Linked DNA regions of Homo sapiens: region 1 is linked to region 2. Evidence: promoter capture Hi-C in 16 types of primary human blood cells and fetal thymus (Javierre and others, 2016). All regions are on one chromosome and are shown on one strand. Each heading gives the region's core, a stretch centred on a gene start or on the middle of the fragment in contact. The rest is flanking DNA. Distances are from core to core; before and after follow the strand shown. Region 1 holds the start of LOC124905115. Region 2 holds the start of LGALS1 (galectin 1).

Evidence for each region. Contacts are between HindIII fragments. The CHiCAGO score rates a contact against its expected background, and 5 or more counts as called.
Region 1: a contact is called between a fragment that was not itself captured here and the fragment with the promoter of LGALS1 in region 2, in 2 of 17 cell types (endothelial precursors and M0 macrophages). The highest score is 5.5, in endothelial precursors.

What each region holds. Positions count from the first base shown.
Region 1 is chr22:37,743,386-37,748,410 of GRCh38, reverse strand. The region is part of intron 11 of TRIOBP (TRIO and F-actin binding protein); the gene reads right to left. LOC124905115 reads left to right here and starts at 1,112. Exons shown (of 3, transcript XM_047441691.1): 1 at 1,112-1,289. The coding sequence starts at 1,272. LOC102724378 (a long non-coding RNA gene) reads left to right here and starts at 2,467. Exons shown (of 3, transcript NR_160697.1): 1 at 2,467-2,792; 2 at 2,871-2,940; 3 at 3,574-4,101. RefSeq lists silencers at 1,408-1,517, 1,738-1,967, 2,308-2,607. The HindIII fragment of the contact is 2,944 bases long and covers 242-3,185 here.
Region 2 is chr22:37,672,141-37,677,313 of GRCh38, reverse strand. It overlaps LGALS1 (galectin 1), which reads right to left and starts at 1,678. Exons shown (of 4, transcript NM_002305.4): 1 at 1,603-1,678; 2 at 249-328. The coding sequence starts at 1,611. RefSeq lists silencers at 1-215, 1,736-1,875. The HindIII fragment of the contact is 13,088 bases long and covers 1-2,400 here.

The sequences.
Region 1 (5,025 bases), core at 464-2,963, 71 kb before region 2:
GGCAAAAGGGGTGGAAGAGAATCCCAACTCCCTGAAGCCCCGGAGCCTCACACACTCACACACCTGTGCCACTTGCTCTGTATGGATCCCTGATTCAGGGCACGGGGGCCAGGGGAGGAGGGTGTGAGGTGGGTACAGGAGGAGCACCAGCTGAGAGCAGGCTGAGGTCTGCATGGCAGCCAGGATGAACTCAATGAACACTATTAATGGTGATCATAGCCTCCTCTCTGCTCTAAAAGCTTTCATGGCTCTCTATTGCCCCTGTCCAAGCCCTAGCAGTGAGGCCCTCCTCCCCAGACCCCTTCCCTACGCTCTTGCTACTTCTCAAACATGACCACCCGTTTCTGTCCACACTGCTGTCTCCTCGCTAGTCCATCTCCACCTGACAAGGCCCTATAATCACAGGAGGACACCTCCCTCAGGAAGGCTGCTGCCACCAGCAGGGATGTGCTGTCCATCTTCCAAGCACCCCACACGCTGCTTCCGGCAGCCTTACCCTTGCTCAGCACGTGCTGCCCCCAGGACAGGCAACTGTGAAAGAAAGCTGGAACGGACCTGGATACAAATTCTGGCTTAGCCTGGGACTCACTGAGTTACCTGGGGCATGACACTTCACCTCGCCACACCTTGGTTTCCTCATCTGTTTGATTAAGATGTTACTACCAACCTTCAAGGATCAAATCTGGTAACGTGAAAGCACCCGGCTGAGGGCCGGGCAGGCACCCGGTGGGCAAGGCAACTTCTCTCCTCCTGGCCCCAGGACACTGACTCAGCTCCTCCCCCCACATCCCTTCTGCTCCTGACAGAAAAGGGGAGGCTGCTGACGACAGGAAGGGCCAGCAGGGAGGTGGCAGGATGTCCAGGAGGACGCCGAGGAAGTCCAGGCCATCACACTCACAGGGCAGGGGCTAGGCGTGCCACGCCCCCCAGCAGCCCAGCCCGCCCCCAGCAGCCCACCCACTCCTCCGCAGGGTCTCCACTCCCCTGAAAGAGGCCTACTGCCGCCTGTGCACACACACACCCTGCTCATCCTCCCCCAGGAGGGCCACTGGGCTGTCAGAGCCTCCCTGAAGCACTAGCCAGAAACCAAAAGCAGCCCCACCCCTCCCTTCCCGAACATCACGGTCAGTGGGCCAGAAGGACAGGGAAAGGAGCTACTCCTTCTCTTATACTTGGGGTGACCTCGGGCAACTCACCAGCGCCCCTCCCCAAGCCTCAGTTTATCTGGCTGTGAAGTGGGGAGTCCAGCGAACCCAGCTGTGAGGCTCAATATGCTAACTATGGCACAGGTAATTGATGGGGCTTGGGTACAGCTCACCCCCATGAGAAAGGCAAACCCCTGCCATCATGCCCCCTACTCAGACTCGCAGGCTTGTCCCAAGGCCCCAGGACCGCTGCAAAGTGCAAGCCCAGGAAGACGTGGTATCCCGCTGCTTCAGACGTCCCGGGACTGCCTCCCGGGCTGTGGGTGGGGCGGTCCGGCCACTTCTCGCCCACCCGACCTCGGGCCAGCGGCCACACGGAGGGCTGGCTTGCCCAGGCCCGGGTCAGCGCGACCCATCCGCACCCACGAGCGCCCCTCCCCAGCCCAGGCCCACCTCCGCTCCTCCCTGGGGCCCCTGGCCGCCTTGGGGAATCGGGTCTTCGTCTAGGGGGCTGGAGGGGAGGTGGGAAAGGGTCGCCCCGAATCCACCCGTGACTGGTGCCGCAAGTGTGAGGAGGGGGCGCCCGAGACGGGTCGTTCCGTCCCCTCAGGGTCGCCTGGGCTCCCGGGGGCGAGTGGGCGAGGGAAGGCGAGGAGGAGCCTGCGGGAAGGGTGAGGCCGGTCTGGCCGAAAGCGCTTCGGAGGTGGCCCCGTCTTCCGGCCCAGCCCTCCTCTCGCCTTCGGGAAATGAGGAGGGGGCTGCCCCGGAGGGGAGAGGCTGGGCTCTGCCTCGGGTCGTCGCCCTTCTCCCGGCCTCGGGCGCGGGCGGCTGACTGGGGCACTCACCGTCATGGCGGCGCCCCAGGGCGGCGGGAGCAGGAGGCAGGAACGTGGACGCGGCTCTCGGGCCGGGCTCCGCGGCGCGGGAACCCCGCCGCCGCCGCCGCCGCCGCCCCTCTCGGCCGCCCGCCGCCGCGCCTCCGGCCCTTCCTTTCCCCGACGCTGCCCCGGCCCCTTCCATCCGCCCATAAAACTTTTTTTTTTTTTTTTTCAAACTTCCTGGGAGGACCCGAGCGGGCCAATGGGTGGCGGGGAAGCCGAGACAAACAGCGGCGGGGGCCGCGGCGGGCCAATGGAAGCGCGAGACGGGCCGGGGGCGGGACCTGCCGCAACGGGACGGGCGCGCTAGGGCGGCGGGGCGGCGGGACGGCGGGACGGCGGGGTGGGCGGATGGGGCCGCAGGGAAGGGAGGGCGGTGGCGGCCGGAGGGCGGGCGGGCCCGGGCCGCGGGCGCGCTGGGAGGAAGGAAGGGCCCAGGGTGCAGGTGACTCCGGCAATGGCGCGGGGGCGGAGGATGCGGGCGGCCGGGCGTGGGCACGACTCGCCCAGGCTGCGCTTCCCGACCCGGCCCCGGAGCGATGGGTCCGCTAGGGCTCGGCGCCGTGATTTGGCGGGGACCGGGGCAAAGCACCCAGTACTAACGACTCAGCGGGTCCCACTCGCCAAGAGTCGATTTTCGTCCTCACCACAGACTTGGGAGGGAGGTCTTATTTTGCTAATGAGAAAACGGAGGCTCAGAGGGGTGAGCCGATTTGCCCGAGGTCACACAGGAAGAGGCGGAATTCCTAGCGAGTAAGCTGGACACAAAGTGAGTTCTTGGATGGCAGGGTCTCTCCCAAATGCCCACTCCTCACAAATGGGTCTTTTTTGGTTTGGGGTTTTTCAGGTGTGGGCGTGCACCCGTTGCTCAGGTTCCCAGAACGCTGGGCCGTTTGTTAGATGCTCTTTTCCTGCAGGTGAGTAGGGACCGTGGTGGAATTGGTTGCTAAATGCACTAGGAAGTTCGTGTGGCACGGGGATTCCAGCCTAGTGTTACCTTAAGCAAGGCACCTCTCGGTGCTCAATTTCACTCTCTGTAAAATGGGGTAATGCTGTTACCTCATGAGGTTGCTGGAAGGATTAAGTGTTAATTCAAGTAAGGCACCTAGGACAACCTCTTTATCCCTCATTAGCTATCCTTAGGCAAGGAGGCAGGGAAGCTTGGAATAATTGGCATTTCAATTATTCTGTCATCTTGATTTGGGGTTCAAAAATTATTGCCCTTGCCGGGCGCGGTGGTTCAGGTCTGTAATCCCAACACTTTGGGAGGCTGAGGTGGGTGGATCATTGAGATCAGGAGTTCAAGAGCAGACTGGCCAACATGGTGAAACCCCGTCTCTACTAAAAATACAAAAATTAGCCGGGCGTGGTGTCAGGCGCCTGTAATCCAGCTATGTAAAAGGCTGAGGCAGGAGAATCGCTTGAACCCGGGAGGCAGAGGTTACAGTGAGCAGAGATTGTGCCACTGCACTCCACCTTGGGAGACGGAGCGAGACTCCCTCTCAAAAAAAAAAATTATTGCTTTTATAATTACTGTTCCCATTTTGCAGATAAAGAAATGGAGGCCCAGGGAGCTGAAGTTCTTTCCCAGCATTTGCTGCCAGGAGTCTCTCCACCATGAGGAATGAGGCCAAGGTTAAGTCCATCTAACTCTAGAAACTGGCCTTCTGGCACCCCGGGCTGAGTTTTCTCACCCTACCCTTGCACCTCACTCAGGCAGTCAGTCCTTGGGAGAGTGAATGAACACGCAGGAGACCTCACCTACCACCAGGGTCCTGGTCCAGTGCCCTGGGCACCTAACAGCACCAGCCTCCTCCAGGCTTTTCTGGCCCCTGCGACTCCTCCTAGTACCCGCAACACAGTGACCAGACCACTTCCCTGCTCAAAGTTCTTCCACACATCACCAATGCTGACAGATCAGTGCTACATTCCTCTTCTAGGCAGTCAGGAACCATCACAACCTGGCTCCTGCCTGTCATCCTGGCCTTCCAGATTCTCATTTGACAGGCTGGAGAGACACATACTTTGGTCAATTTTGCAAAATACAATAAGTAAATAAAGAGATGCACAGCACTGGAGGCTGGGCGCGGTGGTTTATGCCTGTAATCTCAGCACTTTAGGAGGCCGAGGCGGGTGGATCACCTGAGGTCAGGAGTTCGAGACTAGGCTGGCCAACATGGTGAAACCCCGTCTCTGGTAAAAATACAAAAAATTAGCCGGGCGTGGTGGCACATGGCTGTGATCCCAGCTACTTGGGAGGCTGAGGCAGGAGAATCGCTGGAACCTGGGAGGCGTAGGTTGCGGTGAGTGAAGATCACACCACTGCATTCCACTCCAGCCTAGGCAACAGAGCGAGACTCCATCTCAGAAAAAAAAAAAAAAAAAAAGATACACAGCACTGGACTACTAGGAATTCCCAGGATAAGACAGGTCCTTCTACCCCCTGATGGTTCTCTGCTGTGCCTGGAACACTTCTCTTCCTGTCTTCTGTACCCCAGCACACACACACACACACACCCAGCACACACTCACACACACCCAGCACACACACACACACACACACACACACACACACACACACACACATTCTCTCTCTCTTTCTCCCCTTCCCCCTCCCAATGCTTGTTGGCCTGGAAAATTTCTTCCTTGAAGTCTCAGACCAAAGGAAGCCAAAGTGTCCCCAGCAGACTTAGGAACTGCTGGCCCAGTGCTCCCTACATCTGTACCTTTCCCCACTAAAGTGGTGACCACACTGTTCTCATCAGTTACATGTCAGTGTCCTTACCTAACTGGGCTCCAGTGGCCAGGGCTGGAATGTTTTTTGTCTACATCTTGGAAACCAGCCTAGGGCCTAAGCCCACAGCACATCCTCCGTAAGCACGGCTCGAATGAATGAATGCACCAATGAAGAAACCACAACTCATCCTGGCAGGTCAGAGACAGCACAGCCTCAGGGACCCAGGGGTGAGTTATTAAACTGGCAAAGACCAGAGCTACCAAAC
Region 2 (5,173 bases), core at 429-2,928:
ATTACAGATGACGAGGCTGCAGCTGGTTTAGTTTAAGAGGCTACAGCAGGGAGGGAGCGGGGGAGGGGGCGGCAACGGTGGGGGCGCCCAGACCCTGCGGGGGAAGTGAGTCACCCAGAAAACGCAGCATCGGCGGCTGGCCGTTAACCCGCTCCCGGCCAGGGAGGAGATGTGGGCTTGGCCGGCCACGCCCTCCCTGCTGGACCAAGCCCGTCCCTGCCGCCCACCACCCCGACTTCACTTCTCACCTCTTAGCGTCAGGAGCCACCTCGCCTCGCACTCGAAGGCACTCTCCAGGTTTGAGATTCAGGTTGCTGGCGACCAGACCCTGCACAGACAAGCCCCGGCCCAGCCGGGTTAGAGGACAAGGCCTCCACTGCTCGAAGTGTCCGGGGGTGGCTGGGGGTGGGAGTGGGGTTGTTCCCGCCCGGCATCCTCTGACCAAGCCAAGGGGAAGCCTGGGGAAAGGATTGAGCTGTAATTTCCAGCCTCCGATTGTCTATGTGGTCCTGGGAAAGTCCCTATTCCCACCGGGGTTGGCTTCAGTCTGTAACGTGAAGGTTCTAGAAGACAGGCTCTAGAAGATTTTGCAGATTGGCTTGGGAATTTTGGACTCAAGAGTGACTTGGGAGATGGGGTGCTCTGTCCCATCGCAGATGGAGAGGATCAGGCTGGGGAGGGGCCGACACTTGGCCCACCGTCACACTGAATGGAGGGGCCGGCCCCTCTGCTGGAGAGGAAGTGGCTAGGGGCGGGCGACCCCACTATTCTCCTTCAAGCCCCTCTCTGCAAAGAGGCCCAGGGGCTAGAGAGGAGACCCTGAAAAACACGGCCTCTCTGCATTAGGGAGAATAGCCCTGCAGTCGGGCTGTGGCTGGGCTGGCTCAGGGTTAACAAGATTGAGCAAACTGCTGGGCACTGCTGTTCCCTGGCACCCCGAGTGGGTGGGCAAGAGTTAACTGGTTTGAGTGGTTTCTTCTGCCAGAAACTTGAACCCTTTCCCTGGGGCCCGAGGAAGATTCTCACCTCCCTGCCACCCCAACCTCCCAGCTTGGGGGTGGTGGAAGGGAATTTCCCCCGCCCCCCCCGCCACCAGCCTGGACACAACCACCCTCCACCCCCGACCTAGAAGGGCCCATCCTGGGCAGCTTGTCTCGGGTCCTGGCAACTTTTCAGCGTTCTCTGGAGCAGAGGGTAACTCTGCCCTGGCCTGGTGACCGGGACAGCTGCAGGGGGGAGGGGACAGGAGGCTCTTTGGGGTGGAGGAGGGGGAAAGGGATAGTGGCCTGGGTGTCCCCCAGTTGGCCACACCCTTCCCACGCTCACTTCTCAGAGAGCTGCAGAATGTCAACCCTGGGCAGAAATAACTGTGCTTTCAGACCCTGGAGGAATCCAGACAATTATCAATGCAGAGAAGGCCTTGAGGGACCATGGCGCCCACCCCCATTTTACAGATGTGGCCACTGAGGTCCAGAAAAGAGAAGGCACTGGTTCCAGGCCACACAGCTGGGGCTAGAATCTGCTCCCGATCTGCCCAGCTCTCCTCTGGCCATCAGTTCCTGCCCTATCCCCTGGACCTTGGGGGGGGGTCCCCACACTCACACAAGCCATGATTGAGTCCAGGAGGATGTTCCCGGGCAGGCGCACCAGCTGTCAGAAGACTCCACCCGAGAGAGATGGGCCCCCGGACGCTCCCACCCTTTTAACTGGACCGGACCGGGTGAGCCCCGCCCCCTGAAAGTTCAGCCAATTGCAAGTCAGGATAGGGCTGGGGGCCACTGGGGGCGGAGTCCGTGGAATTTTGAAGCCAGTTTTGGAGCAGAGGTGACCAATCAGAGTGGCGAGCTGCTGCCCCCCCTCACCCCGCCGCCCCCGGCCAGAGTCCAAGCTCCACCTCCTATTCTCCTTCATCCCTCTCCACCTCCCCACCAAAATTGTGCTGTGGCAGAGATTGGGGGAAGCCAGTGGAAAATAGTTTGATGATGAGCTAGGCCCACAAGTTGGCGGGAAGGGGCCTGTGGCCAGCAGGCTGGGCTCAGGGGGTGCCCAGAGAAGATGGCTGAGGAGGTGCAGGGTCCTTCAGGGAATCAGAGCTGGGGGAGACCAGGCCACTCCCGGGCAGGGACCAGGGCGTGGCTCCTGCTGCGTGCGCGTCTGCAGAGGGCCACTGACTTAACCACAGGCCCTGGCCCCACCCGGGCCTTCCCCGGAAGCAAGGACTGCGGCTGCTGCAGCGCTCTCTCGCTGGCTCCTCGGGAAGGCTAAAGAAAGGCTGGGCCGGGCGCCAAGCCTGAGGCTGCAGGGCTTGGCTAAGGCCTCGGGCTTGGCCGCGTTCAGGGGCAGGCAGGGGATAGTCAAAGCGCCCTGGCCTGACAGCCTCAGGCCTGAGAGTGTCAAGCTTAGGAGATGGCCCAGGGTGGTCCAGACCAGGAGGGGGTGGGGTCCTGGCTCTGTGCACCCTGTCCTTTCTCTTTTTTATTTTTATTTATTTATATATTTATTTTTGAGATGGAGTCTCGCTCTGTCGCCCAGGCTGGAGTGCAGTGGCGTGATCTCAGCTCACTGCAACCTCTGCCTCCCAGGTTCAACTGATTCTCCTGCCTCAGCCTCCCGAGTAGCTGGGACTACAGGCCCCCACCACCACACCCGGCTAATTTATGTACTTTTAGTAGAGACGGGGTTTCACCACGTTGGCCAGGCTGGTCTCAAACTCCTGACCTCAGTTGATCCACCCGCCTCAGCCTCCCAAAGTAATGGGATTACAGGTGTGAGCCACCATGCCTGGCCACCCTGTCTGCTCTCTTAACATCTCCTCTGAGGCCCGGCACAGCCCTCCCTTCCCTGAGTGTTCAGCAGGTATTTTACTGAGCACCTACTATGTACCTGGCCCTGGGCTCTGAGGATTCAAAGCTGAACCCCTCCCAGTCCCCACTCTCAAGGAGCGCATAGTTGGGGTGGAATCTGACCACAACCACGTTAAGAAGTAGATGATGGGCTGGGCGCAGTGGCTCACGCCGGTAATCCCAGCTCTTTAGGAAGCCGAGGCGGGCGGATCACCTAAGGTTAGGAGTTCGAGACTAGCCTGACCAACACGGAGAAACCCCATCTCTACTAAAAATACAAAATTAGCTGGGCATGGTGGCATATGCCTGTAATCCCTGCTACTCCTGAGGCTGAGGCAGGAGAATCGCTTGAACCCAGGAGGCAGAGGTTGCAGTGATCCGAGATCAGTCTATTGCACTCCAGCCTGGGCAATAAGAGTGAAACTCAGTCTCAATTAAAAAAAATAAAAAATAAAAATAAAAATAAAAAGAAGTAGATGATGATGGCTGTAAGGGAAGCCATGAGAAAGTGCTATGGTGGGCTGGCGGCTGCATGAGTAAAGGAGGTGGGTCGTGAAGGGTAGGCGGAGAAGTGCCTGGCTTTCCACCATGGGCAGAAGCTCCAGAATGAGAAGGCCAGGGCTGGAGAACAGTGTTCCGGGCATGTGGGGGAAAAACGGGGATGAGGCTGGGAAGCCAACAGGACCTGGACCATGGAGGGCCTCATGGGCTGGGCACAGGGCTTGGACATTGTTGTATGGGAGGAGGCTGGGGAGCCAGGGCTAGAGGGAGGGTGAGTACTGAGGCCAGATTTGGGCTCTAGGGAAGATCACTGTGGCAGAGAATTGAGGGTGGGTGGGAGGGGTGCTCACCTTACACTCAGGAACCTGGTGGAGGAAGGGGCGTGGGGAGCACTGGGCAAAATGAGGGGCATGCTGGGGGGTTGTCACGGGGACCTCCTTCTCCACCTGGCCGTCCCCCTTCTGAAACTGCTGGCACCAAAGAGGGACGAAGATGCGGACCAGGAGTGACTCACATCTGGAAGCCAGGCCAACACACCCACCCTGCCTCTCAGGGGCACCTTCCTCCAGATGCCCAAAGCCCACTCTGGTACAGGATGAGAGGGGAGTGTGTAGGGCCGCAAGGCGGACCCAGAGAGGGGATGGGGTTGCACCCCTGTGAGTGCCTTACCCCTCCTTCCAGACCAAGTGGCTGCTTGGAAACCAACCACAGCAGCTTCACTTTTTCCTCCGGGCCTCCCCAAAACCTCAACCATAGGAAGGGCTGGATGGGGCCCAGCCTAGTTCCACTGCCCCTCCCCCATGCCTCCCCTCTCTGCCAGATCAAGGAATGGGGCATCTCAGGCGGAGTCCTAGACCGAGGGTCAGAGGCGCTTCAGGTGTGGTCCTCGCCGGGCTGCGGGCGGGTGGGTGTGGCCACTTTCCCAGCCCAGCCCAATAATTGGGTTCTTGTAGCCTCAGGAGCTGCTCCTGCATCCTCCTCCACCCTGGAAAATGGGCCCGGCATCAGGGACTGTTTGCTGTTGGATGGAGGGACAATTTACTCCTCTGCAGCGTCTGGCATGAGTGGGGCTGGCAGGGAGGCAGGGTGGCATGGTGAAGAGGTCCCTAGAAAGGCCTATTTGGGAGTCTAGACACGCGGGTGCTGGCCCTGCTTGCTATGTCCCCTCAGAGCCTCCTGGCAAGCTGCTTCTCCCACTTGCCTCAGTCTCCCTATCTGTAAATTGGGGAGATGAAATCCTGCTTTCCTTGCACGAGGTGAATACAGGGTGGAACTGAGGTCTGTTGTACTAAACAGATGATTCGTGTTTTCATGGAGGCTCAGAAGGTTTTCACTTCCTTCTTGTCTCTTCCCAGGCTGTTACCTTCCCTAGGTCTTTGCAGCACCTCTGGGAGGTCTACATGTCATGCCCAACAGGTCCCCAACAGTCTCCTCTTGCCGAGGTTGGGGCAAGAAGTCTCTCCAGATTCCAGTGTCCCCTGTGACAGGAGCTGCGGTTTTCCTGGCGGGGAGGGAAGGCAGGGACACAGGTGCATCGTGGGCCTCCTCCCCCTAGTCCTCAGGGCCTCCTAGTGGCAGCGCCCACTTATCTTGCCAGGCCCTGTGCCCGGCGCCTTGCTTTCATTATCTCCCCTCTCATCTTCCCCTCGCCCCTACTTTGTGTCTGCCAACTTGGTTGAATTTCTGCACAGGGAAATGAAGCTGCAGTTAGAATCAGAAGAGGCCGGGCACGGTGGCTCATGCCTGTAATCCCAGCACTTTGGGAGGCTGAGGTGGGTGGATCACCTGAGGACAGGAGTTCGAGACCAGCCTGGCTAACATGGCAAAAC